4 separate regions of the Homo sapiens genome follow, and all the other regions are linked to region 2. The links are contacts of gene promoters, found by promoter capture Hi-C in human tissues and cell types (Jung and others, 2019). All regions are on one chromosome and are shown on one strand. Each heading gives the region's core, a stretch centred on a gene start or on the middle of the fragment in contact. The rest is flanking DNA. Distances are from core to core; before and after follow the strand shown.

Evidence for each region. Contacts are between HindIII fragments. The study calls those that stand out against the background at their distance.
Region 1: a contact is called between a fragment that was not itself captured here and the fragment with the promoter of YARS2 in region 2, in 1 of the 25 tissues and cell types used here (dorsolateral prefrontal cortex).
Region 3: a contact is called between a fragment that was not itself captured here and the fragment with the promoter of YARS2 in region 2, in 1 of the 25 tissues and cell types used here (dorsolateral prefrontal cortex).
Region 4: a fragment that was not itself captured here is called in contact with the fragment with the promoter of YARS2 in region 2 in 1 of the 25 tissues and cell types used here (dorsolateral prefrontal cortex).

What each region holds. Positions count from the first base shown.
Region 1 is chr12:33,929,752-33,932,653 of GRCh38, forward strand. No RefSeq gene overlaps it. Among named protein-coding and RNA genes, the nearest start is that of ALG10, 91 kb to the right of the region's middle. The HindIII fragment of the contact is 3,937 bases long and covers 1-2,902 here.
Region 2 is chr12:32,754,601-32,757,540 of GRCh38, forward strand. YARS2 (tyrosyl-tRNA synthetase 2) reads right to left here and starts at 1,297. Exons shown (of 5, transcript NM_001040436.3): 1 at 496-1,297. The coding sequence starts at 1,274. RefSeq lists enhancers at 237-876, 433-592, 877-1,516, 963-1,062, 1,083-1,312 and 1 more. The HindIII fragment of the contact is 8,220 bases long and covers 1-2,940 here.
Region 3 is chr12:31,723,316-31,726,299 of GRCh38, forward strand. All of the region lies in intron 1 of AMN1 (antagonist of mitotic exit network 1 homolog), which reads right to left. LOC105369722 (a long non-coding RNA gene) reads left to right here and starts at 474. Exons shown (of 3, transcript XR_931497.3): 1 at 474-602; 2 at 1,253-1,324. The HindIII fragment of the contact is 6,979 bases long and covers 1-2,984 here.
Region 4 is chr12:33,962,444-33,965,397 of GRCh38, forward strand. No RefSeq gene overlaps it. Among named protein-coding and RNA genes, the nearest start is that of ALG10, 59 kb to the right of the region's middle. The HindIII fragment of the contact is 4,025 bases long and covers 1-2,954 here.

The sequences.
Region 1 (2,902 bases), core at 294-2,793, 1.2 Mb after region 2:
ACCAAATCTACATCTGATTGGTGTACCTGAAAGTGACAGGGAGAATGGAACCAAGTTGGAAAACGCTCTTCAGGATATTATCCAGGAGAACTTAGCAAGGCAGGCCAACATTCAAATTCAGGAAATACAGAGAACACCACAAAGATACTCCTCAAGAAGAGCAAGTCCAAGACACATAATTGTGAGATTCACCAAAGTTGAAATGAAGGAAAAAATGTTAAGGGCAGCCAGAGAGAAAGGTCAGGTGACCCACAAAGGGAAGCCCATCAGACTAATAGCTGATCTCTCGGTAGAAACTCTACCAGCCAGAAGAGAGTGGGGGCCAATATTCAACTTTCTTAAAGAAAAGATTTTTCAACCCAGAATTTCATATCCAGCCAAATTAAGCTTCATAAGTGAAGGAGAAATAAAATCCTTTACAGACAAGCAAATGCTGAGAGATTTTGTCACCACCAGGCCTGCTCTACAAGAGCTCCTGAAGGAAGAACTAAATATAGAAAGGAACAACTGTACCAGTCACTGCAAAAACATGACAAATTGTAAAGGCCATCAATGCTAGGAAGAAACTGCATCAACTAACGAGCAAAATAACCAGCTAACATCATAATTACAGGATCAAATTTACACATAAAAATATTAACCTTAAATGTAAATGGGCTAAATGCTCCAATTAAAAGACACAGACTGGCAAACTGGATAAAGAGTCTATAGCTCCCAGCATGAGCGATGCAGAAGATGGGTGATTTCTGCATTTCCAACTGAGGTACCAGGTTCATCTCACTGGGGAGTGTCGGACAGTGGGCGCAGGACAGTGGGTGCAGCATACTGAGCATGAGCTGAAGCAGGGTGAGGCATCACCTCACCCGGGAAGTGCAAGGGGTCAGGGAATTCCTTTCCTAGGCAAAGAATGAGGTGACAGATGGCATCTGGAAAATCAGGTCACTCCCACCCTAATACTGTGCTTTTCCAAAAGTCTTAGCAAATGGCACACCAGGAGATTATATCCTGCGCATGGCTTGGAAGGTGCTACACCCATGGAGCCTTGCTCATTGCTAGCACAGCAGTCTGAGATCAAACTGCAAGGCGGCAGCAAGGCTGGGGGAGGTGTGTCCACCATTGCTGAGGCTTGAGTAGGTAAACAAAGTGGCTGGGAGGCTCGAACTGGGTGGAGCCCACTGCATCTCAAGGAGGCCTGCCTGTCTCTGTAGACTCCACCTCTGGGGGCAGGGCATAGCCAAACAAAAGGCAGCAGAAAACTGTGCAGACTTAAATGTCCCTGTCAGCTTTGAAGAGATTAGTGGTCTGACAGCTTTGAAGAGAGTAGTGGTTCTCCCAGCACGCAGCTGGAGATCTGAGAATGGACAGACTGCCTCCCCAAGTGGGTCCCTGACCCCTGAGTAGCCTAACTGGGAGGCACCGCCCAGTAGGGGCAGACTGACACCTCACACAGCCGGGTACTCCTCTGAGACAAAACTTCCAGAGGAACGATCAGGCAGCAACATTTGCTCTTCACCAATATCCACTGTTCTGCAGCCTCCATTGCTGATACCAAGGAAAACAGGGTCTGGAGTGGACCTCCAGGAAACTCCAACAGACTTGCAGCTGAGGGTCCTGACTGGTAAAAGGAAAACTAACAAATGGAAAGGACATCCACACCAAAACCCCATCTCTACGTCATCATCACAAAGACCAAAGGTAGATAAAACCACAAAGATGGGGAAAAAACAGAGCAGAAAAACTGGAAACTCTAAAAATCAGAGCGTCTCTCCTGCTCCAAAGGAACGCAGCTCCTCACCAGGAATGGAACAAAGCTGGATGGAGGATGACTTTGACAAGTTGAGAGAAGAAGGCTTCAGATGATCAAACTTCTCCGAGTTAAGGAGGAAGTTTGAACCCATGGCAAAGAAGATAAAAACCTTGAAAAAAGATTAGACGAATGGCTAACTAGAATAACCAATGCAGAGAAGTCCTTAAAGGACCTGATGGAGCTGAAAACCAAGGCACGAGAACTACGTGACGAACGCACAAGCCTCAGTAGCCGATTGGATCAACTGGAAGAATGGGTATCAGTGATGGAAGATCAAATGAATGAAATGAAGCGAGAAGAGAAGTTTAGAGAAAAAAAATAAAAAGAAACCAATAAGGCCTCCAAGGAATATGGGACTATGTGAAAAGACCAAATCTATGTCTGATTGGTGTACCTGAAAGTGATGGGGAGAATTGAACCAAGTTGGAAAACACTCTGTTAGATATTATCCAGGTGAAATTCCCCAATCTAGCAAGGCAGGACAGTATTGAAATTCAGAAAATACAGAGAACAACACAAAGATACTCCTTGAGAAGAGCAACTCCAAGACACATAATTGTCAGATTCACCAAAGTTGAAATGAAGGAGAAAATGTTAAGGGCAGCCAGAGAGAAAGGTCGGGTCACTCACAAAGGGAAGCCCATCAGACTAACAGCTGATCTCTCGGCAGAAACTCTACAAGCCAGAAGACAGTGGGGGCCAGTATTCAACATTCTTAAAGAAAAGAATTTTCAACCCAGAATTTCATATCCAGCCAAACTAAGCTTCATAAGTGAAGGAGAAATAAAATACTTTACAGACAACAAATGCTGAGGAATTTTGTCACCACCAGGCCTCCCCTAAAAGAGCTCCTGAAGGAAACACTAAACATGGAAAGGAAAAACCAGTACCAGCCACAGCAAAAACATGCCAAAATGTAAAGACCATTGAGGCTAGGAGGAAACTGCATCAACTAACGAGCAAAATAACCAGCTAACATCATAATGACAGGATCAAATTCACACATAACAATATTAACCTTAAATGTAAATGGGCTAAATGCTCCAATTAAAAGACACAGACTGGCAAATTGGATAAAGAGTCAAGACCCATCAG
Region 2 (2,940 bases), core at 47-2,546:
GGCCCAGTCACGTTCTGGTATAAACACACAAAAGCAGTTTCTCTAATTAGAGAGGACGACTTAGGCGAAGCAAAACAGACCGACCAAATCTTCACTAGTGGTCTGTTTCCCTTTTTTTTTTTTTTTTTTTTGAGACGGAGTCTCCCTCTGTTGCCCCAGGCTGGAGTGCAGTGGCGCGATCTCGGCTCACTGAAACCTTCGCCTCCCGGGTTCAAGAGATTCTCCTGCCTCAGCCTCCCGAATAGCTGGGATTACAGGCGTGCATCACCACGCCCAGCTAATTTTTAGAATACACCGTTTACTCTTAATACCCTTAATTCAGCCCTTTAATTCTTATTAGCCAGTGTTATTAACGCCATTATAGAGCCTTAATGGGGATAAAACCAACAAGAGCTGGAACGAAGGGCAGCAACTACAATCCTAAGAGTGAATCACAGGCTACTAGTGTGTAAATTATTTGGTCCCAGGATTTCCCCAAGGTTTAAAGGCACTTACTTGTTGATGAACTCATATCCGGACATGATGTTGCCTAGTTGATCAGATCCGCCCAGCTGGACCCTGCATCCATAACGCTGGAAGAGGTAATAGAAGTCATAGGCCTGGAGCACCTGGTAAAAGAACTCGGCCAAGCTCATGCCCTCGGGGCTCTTGAGCCGCAGCTGCACGCTCTGCCGGCTCAGCAGCGTCCCCATGCGGAAGTGACCCCCCACTGCCGCCAGGAAGTCCACCAGGTGCTGCTTCTGGTACCAGGCCGAGTTGTCCAGCACAGTGAAGCTGCCCCAGGAGCGCCCATCAGTGAAAAGCTGCTGGTGATTAGCCGCCAGGGCCTCAAGCCCTAGGCGCAGAGCTCGCGCGTTGGCTCGCACGCGCTCTGTCTCCAGCGCCTCGCGTTCCTTGGTACGGCCGCTCGGGTCTCCCAGGCGCGCCGTGGCGCCTCCCACCAGCGCGATCACGTTGTGGCCCGCTCGCTGCAAATGAAACAGGCCCAGCAGCGCAAGTAGATGACCCACATGAAGCGAGTCTGCCGTGGGGTCGAAGCCACAGTAAATGGTTTGGGGAAAACTCGCCGTGCCACGGTCGAAGAGCTCTGGGAGCTCTATTTTCGTCCCCGTCTCCGGGAAGAAGTCCTTGAACAGACCTCGAGCCTTCTGCGCTGCCAGTAACCCCTGAGCGCCCGAGTGGGCCTTACGCAGCCCCAAGGGCAACAATACTGAGAGATTTAGGGTACCAGACCACCGGCCCCAGGAAAAGGACCGCAAGATGGGCGCCGCCATCTTGGTAGCGGCACGAAGGGAATGCTGGGATTGCAGAGGCTCCCACCACACCCACCTACTTACAGCTCCTAGGGAAGGTGCTTCAGTGTTTTTCTGCGCATGCCCGAGACGGTTACGTAGTTACGGAGCTTGCGCTCTCAGCAGTTGAGTCCCGACTCCAAGTGGCGATTCCGCCTCAGAGCCGTCGCCTTACGTTCCCTTAAACTTAATTTTTCCATCAGCAGTGTGGATCTGCTTATGATAGTTCCTACCTCATAAGGCTGTTGTGAGCCTTAAAAATTAAAGCATTTGGCACATAACGCTTCACAAATGCTAACTTGTATTTACATTTTCACGTAAAAAGATTGTGATGCGCAAGTTCTTTGAAGTCTTGGTTCCATGCAAAAAGCTGTTCACAGAGGTTGAGAAAGGTTAGGAATTGGTTTAAGTTCGCGGAGAGATAGGGAGTTGCTGCTGAGACGCAAGCAATTTCATAGTACCGATTCCCTAATTGCACCTCGTCCCCAGTATTCATCGGCTCTTCCAGGAGGTGGCAGTCTTGTCCAAGGTATAGCAAGAAAAACTCAGTGCAATAAAGTACATGCATCAAGTCCTGTGGTTTATTTATTTTAAATACAGTTAACTAGGTTGGGACACAGCTTAGCATGAGTGGATTCAAGTTAGTAATCACATCGTGCAGCGTGACAGGTGCTCTGAATACTGACCAGGGATGAGGTTCTTATTGGCAGCTGGCTGGCAGGTGATCTAGCTTCAAAATCCCATGTTAGAGCCTGATTTCTAGGACCGCTTTCAAAATCGTCTTAGGTAGAATTCCCTGGACTCTGAGTTGGGGGGGAGACTGGTTTGCAGGAGGGTAATTGGAGTGTGCTCTTAAGAACAACACCTATAATGGAGTGAGGGAGGCCGGGTTGGGCGGAGGGAGAAAGAAGTTGAACTGTGAACAATTTGTAATAGAGGCCTCAGGCAATCCAGTAAGGGCTCTGGAGCCGGGATTTCCTTTCAGAGTCATCCTGAATTGAGGCCAGGGGGCAGACCTTTAGACCCTCTTACTGACTGCTCATTAAATGTGGGATGTTTCTGGGGAGGAAGCAAAACGCTGGGTTAAGGCTTTTGGAGAGTGAGATGTGCAGGAAGGGACTCAGCTGTGAGCAATAAGCAACCAACACTCCCAGCAGCTGGGGGATTGAGTGCCTTGGTCCTGTGACTGGGATCTGGGCCATGTTCCAAATCATTCCCTACAGGACTTTTCCATTTTTTAACGTTATAAAGTTATCTAACAAAATGAAAACTTATTTTAATAATTAGTTTCTTTGCATGTATAATTATCAGTGAATTAGTTTCTCATTGCCAAATAGTAACTTCAATAGGATTTTGAGATACTCATTCAATAGGCTATTAAACATACTCCCAACTGCTTAAGAAAATAGTGTGTTCAAAATATCTTAAAATTTGCAATCATAACCTGTTGATCTTCAGTGTTTTTTTTTTTTTTAAGTGTCACTCTGTTGTCCACACTGGAGTGCCGTGGCAGGATCATGGTTCACTGCAGCCTTGAACTCCTAGGCTCCAGCGATCTTCCTGCCTCAGCCTCCCAAGTAGCTGGAGCTACAGGTGTGGACTACCATGCCTGGCTAATTTTTATTTTTTGTTTTTGTAGAGACGGGGG
Region 3 (2,984 bases), core at 76-2,575, 1.0 Mb before region 2:
ACCAACTCCAGCCACACTGATCAAAGTGTGTTATGTTTTTGGTTTTCCAGACCACTGCGATCTCGGCTCACTGCAAGCTCCGCCTCCTGGGTTCACACCATTCTCCTGCCTCAGCCTCCTGAGTAGCTGAGACTACAGGCGCCCGCCACTATGCCCGGCTAAGTTTTTGTATTTTTAGTAGAGACAGGGTTTCACCATGTTAGCCAGGATGGTCTCGATCTCCTGACCTCGTGATCCACCCGCCTCGGCCTCCCAAAGCAGACCACTTTCACTCTGACAATGATAGGTCTTTTACTGCAAAGGTTGCTCAACAATGAGCCGATAGTCAAGGTATTCAACAGATGTTTCACACCCCTTATCATCCTCAGGCTGCTGCCATTTCTTTATGTGTTGTCTGTGGCTGCTTGTGTTCTACAATGGCAGAGCTGAGTAACTGTGTCAGAGGGTGTGTAGCCTACAAAGCTGAAAATATTACTCTCTGGCCCTTCACAGAAAGGTTACCAACTCCTGCCCTAGATAACAAAGATAACTACCACTTGGTTGAGGATACTGCTCACCAAGTACCCCTACAGTGACCCACACCAGTCAAGCAAGGAAACAAGGTAAGTCTGTGTAAACTTTATAAAAATGCTCTTGTTCCTCTTGCACATGACCTCTGTGAGTAGGGGATTAGAGAAAAGTAAAGCATTTGAAGTGACTGACAATCACTCCTGTTATATAGCAGATCCCCTTTATCCATGGGAAAAACATTCTAAGACTCCCTGTGGACACCTGAAATCATGGATAGTACTGAATCCTAAATCCTATATATACACCCTGCATTTACTATGCAGACATACCTGTGGTAAAGTTTAATATATAAATTAGGCACAGTAAGAGATGAACAACAACAACAATAAAATAGAACAGTTATAACAACATCTACAAGGATTGGGTGGAAAAATAAAAAATACATGTAACAATATGCCAGCATCAGTACTCTTGTGCTCTGGTGCAATTGTTAAGTAATATCAGGGTTATGTGAATGCAGTAGCCCTGCGACAATAGCTCTGATAACCAAGAAGGCTACTAAATGGACAGCATGGATATGCTGAACGAAGGCAGAATTCACATCCTGGGCAGACAGGGCAGGGTGGCATGAGATTTCATCATGCTACTCAAAATGGTGCATAATTTAAAATTTATGAATTGTTTCTTCCTAGAATTTTCCATTTAACATATATATATATTTTTTTACCATGGTTGACTGCAGGTACCTGAAACTGCCGAAACAAAACAGCACATAAGGAGAGACTACTGTATTTTGCTTTATGCAAGATTTCAGGTATATTTCAATATGTTACCTTTTTCCTACAACATGGCTCTCTGCCCCCCACCGCCACCTTTTTCTCTCAGTCTCTTTCATCTTAGCCCTTTAGTATGCTCTTCTCTGAGCTCAGCAGTGCAGAGGCTGTACCATGTGTTTCCCAAAGTAAATGGTTTCCTCTTTCTGCTCCAGTTCCCTCCAGCTGCAATAGCAGGGAGTTGGGACAGAAACAAATCAAATAGTTCTTAAAATTCTGGGAGGACTATTGAATGGCCACAAAGCCCATCCAGAAACCCTGCTGGTCAAACAAATTGATTAAATTTGTCAAATCATGTATTACATTTACTACAGCAAGGGAGATCATCTTGACAGGGTTTTGGTAGCATTTCAATAGAGGAATGTTAGGCAAGAGTATACATAAGTTTCTGGGATATAAACGCCACCAGTTTAAGTGGGTGCTTCTCCCCCCACAGTGGCGAATGGGTAAGGATTAGGCAAAGTTTGTGACTTAGTTTAAAACGGATGGACACAAAAAGCCAGGCTTGATGAGCAATCTGTCCAGATAAACATAATGTTTGTCCTAAAAATCAAAATGTTTGTCCTGATAGCTGTTTATTTAGATAAACTGATTTGCAAAAATTTCCTAGAGCAAAAAGTTAGGTTGACATAAGTGGTGTTGATTCTCAGGCCCCACAGTTGGCACAGGCAGTCTCATTTCTCAAGACAAAATGAAAAGAAGTCAGCTAAAACTTATAATCTTTAAAAGCTGTAAAACAATTGGGGAGACGGGTGGATATCCCAACCAATAATAGTTGCTCTACGTTTTATACTTAAAAGAAACAACCTATTACTATTTGGCCAAATCATCATATGGTGAATTGATCTAACAAATAAAAGAGTTTTGGCAACATGGACTGCTTCTAATGTAAGTGTTACATAAAATTTTGTCCTTGACTTTCTTTTTTTCTCTCTATAGCCCTCTTTTAAACTTAACCATGGCTTCCTATCATCTACAAAGTTATACCCCCAATCTTAGTTTCAATCCTTGATCTCTCTTCATTTTATTTGTGTATTTATGTATTTATTTATTTAGAGATGGAGTCTCACTCTGTTGCCCAGGCTGGAGTGCAGTAGCACCATCTTGGCTCACTCCAAGCTCCGCCTCCTGGGTTCAAGCAATTCTCCTGTCTCAGCCTCCCAAGTAGCTGGGAATACACATGTGCACCACCATGCCCAGTTAATTTTTTTTGTATTTTTGGTAGAGACAGGGTTTCACCATGTTGGCTAGGCTGGTCTCGAACTCCTGACCTCAAGTGATTCACCTGCCTCGGCCTCCCAAAGTGTTGGGATTACAGGCATGAGCCACTGCACCCAGCCTAATCCTTGATCTTTCTTTCAGATTCAAAATTATATTCTAACTGCCTGCTTGATATTTCTACTGGATATTCTGATTCATTTTCCCCGTAAGACACTTCTTCCTCCATAATAGTCTAATCACCATTCTACCTGTCAACGAAGCTAAAACTAAAAGAGTAATTTCTTTTTTTTTTTTTTGGGGGGACGGAGTTTCGCTCTTGTTGCCCAAACTGGAGTGCAATGGTGCAAGCTCGGCTCACCGCAACCTCTGCCTCCCAGGTTCAAGCGATTCTCCCACCTCAGCCTCCCAAGGAGCTGGGAT
Region 4 (2,954 bases), core at 87-2,586, 1.2 Mb after region 2:
GTATCATTAGTGAAGAGAGATAGTGTGACTTGTTTTCCTATTTGGATGATTTTATTTCTCTTGTCAGATTGCTCTGGCTAGCATATCTAGTGCTATGTTGAATAGGAGTGATGACAGTGAGCATTCTTATCTATTCTAGATCTCTGAAAGGGGAATGCTTTCAGTTTTTGTCTGTCCAGTGTGATGTTGGCTGTGAGTTTGTCATAAAAGGCTCTTATTGTTTCGAGGTATGTTCCTTCAATGCCTATTTTCTTGAGGGTTTTTTTTTTAATCATGAAGAGGTGTTAGATTTTATTGAAAGCTTTTCTGTATCTGTTGGGATGATCATATGGTTTTTGTTTTTAATTCTGATTATTTGTGAATCACATTTATTGATTTGCATATATTAAATCAACTTTGCAATTTATGAATGAAGCCTATTAGTCTGTGGGTCTATGGTAAATTAACTTTGTGATATGCTGCTGGACTCAAGTTTGCCAGTATTTTGTTGAGGATTTTTGCATTTACATCCATCAAGGGTATAGGCCTGTATCATCATCAGGTATATTTGAAGAACAGAAATACATTTTTTAAAACTCATGATAATGGGATGACATCTTTAACACTTTTCCCATTTAGAAAAAAAAGTGCAGCTTGCTGCCAGAGTTCATTTAATTTTACATAAACATGCTCTTTGAGGCTGAAGCAAATCTGACTGATTTTCAATATGAAAATAAAATGTAAAAACTGTTCTTGGAGTTATTTCTAAACAGAACTAACATCAGAATCATGTGAATCATCAGAATCATCTATTTTGGAAAACTGGATTCATCAACTGAATCTTTGGCCAACAAGGATATTGGCCAGCATTATCATTGGATGATGCCTGCTTCACAGAAGGAGCTAGGGAGGAGTTTCTCTTCCTTAGGAATAGTTTCAGTAGAATTGGTACCAGCTCTTTTTTGTACATCTGGTAGAATTCGGCTGTGAATCCAGGGCCTTATTTGGTTCATAGGGTTTTTTAAATTATTATTACAGATTCAATTTTGGAACTTGATATTGGCCTATTTAGAGTTTCAATTTATTCCCGATTCAATCTGTGGAAATTGCATGTTTCTAAGAATTTACCCGTTTCCTCTAGATTTTCTAGTTTGTGTGCATAGAGGTGTTTTGTAATAGTCTGAGGATCTTTTGTATTTCTGTGTATTCCTCAATTGTGATAGAACATTGGATTGTCTTTTGTTAACTCAACATCATCTTCACCCCTGCTAGGAATCCTTCTAAATAAATTTCCCAACATCTTCTTCCCTATGTGGTTCTATGTTAACATCTGTCAATGAGAAACCATCTCACACTGTTTAGAAGATGTGACTAAAAGAGACAGTTGCAGGCAGACAAGTAGGCAGATGGCAGTTATATGATTTTCTGACAGTCTCCTGTGAATCACTCACTACAGTTTAGCTGAAACATATTATAGTAAATTTTTGTTAATCACTTGAGTTGGTTCTGCAAATTAAGATAGTCAGTGGGAGGCTCCCAGAGGTTCTTAAATTCCCAGCAATTTCTAGGTGAAATCCACCTCAGAGTTCAAATTGAGATCATCTTTTCTGAATTCTGATTCCTCATCCTAGATAGCAGTTATATATGCCTCTAATTTCATGTGTTACAATTCTTTGTAATTACAATATAGAATGTTTTCCATTTTCTTGCCTGAAGCCTGACTGATATACATAGACAAGACTCAATATTTTCACTACCAAAAATTAGTCCCATGCAAAATTTGGCTCTGTTATTTCTGGGAATACCTAAAATTGGATCTTAAGAGCATGTAATAGATACGGTCACTGCAATGTATCATGTATGACACATACATTTCCATAATCCCATTTTACACCTTGTAAAGACAATTGGAAAAGCTTAAGCACTGTCACTGCCCATGAAGACAAGGAATATTATCCATCCTCAAGAAGATTTTCATGTACGCTCTCACCACATATGTCATTTTCACCCAGAGAAAGGTAGAAGAGCCTCCTCCCTAGGTTTGAGACACACTTTTCCACTGGAGCTCTTCTTGTACCCAGAGTTTTACAAATCTCTCTGAACACTCTCATGAAATTATTTCCTTCCAAGAATCTCACCAAATCTCTCACGAAAAAAAAAGTTATTTCCTTTAACCAGATGACTTCGTTTGCAGTACTGGATTGGGGAGACGCCATAATATCTGCATAGTCCTCCTCCATTTCATTTTTCCTCCCACCCACCCCCACCACAAAAATAAATTTGTTTTACCTGGTAACCAATGATCCTTTTATCATATTAACCAATGCAAACCTCACAGGATGTTAAAATGGTATTTTTCTTGTCTCCATGTTAGCTGAAGCATAAAGACAATACACATACCTTCCAAAATGACAGCATTTTACTGCACTTTTAAAGTGGATAAAAGAAAAAATAATTCTTAACTCCATCATTTACATTGAGGACAAAAAGATTCCTAGAAAATTTATAAAGAGGGTATTTGGAAGTGGTTATTGCTGTGTGGGAAGCTTCAGTCTGCTCCTTGTCAAAGTGAAGGGCTAGGATTGGGTTTCCTTTTCTTCATCCAAGCCTAGCGTGGAGGCCATGAGGATGTGCACTGTAAACTTCCAAACTAAGAGCCCAGTTTCTGTATACTGAAATCTATTGTGTTACCCTCAGGCAACAGCCTAGAATTAGAAGAATACTGTGGCCAACCCATTACAGATAAATATGGGACTTCTCTGATAGCCAGCTTTGGCTTACAAGTTCCTCCAACAGCCTTTGCTGAGCTTTCCTTAGACTGCACTGCAGTCTAGGACCCTTCCAACTTGGCTTCCTTCCTCTCTTTTTCACTAAGAGTCAGGCTTTTATTGCAGGTATGAAACTTTCTCAGCCTTCTCCAACTCCCTCCCATGTTATCTCACAGACATCTTTGTTAATAATATTCTTGCACATTT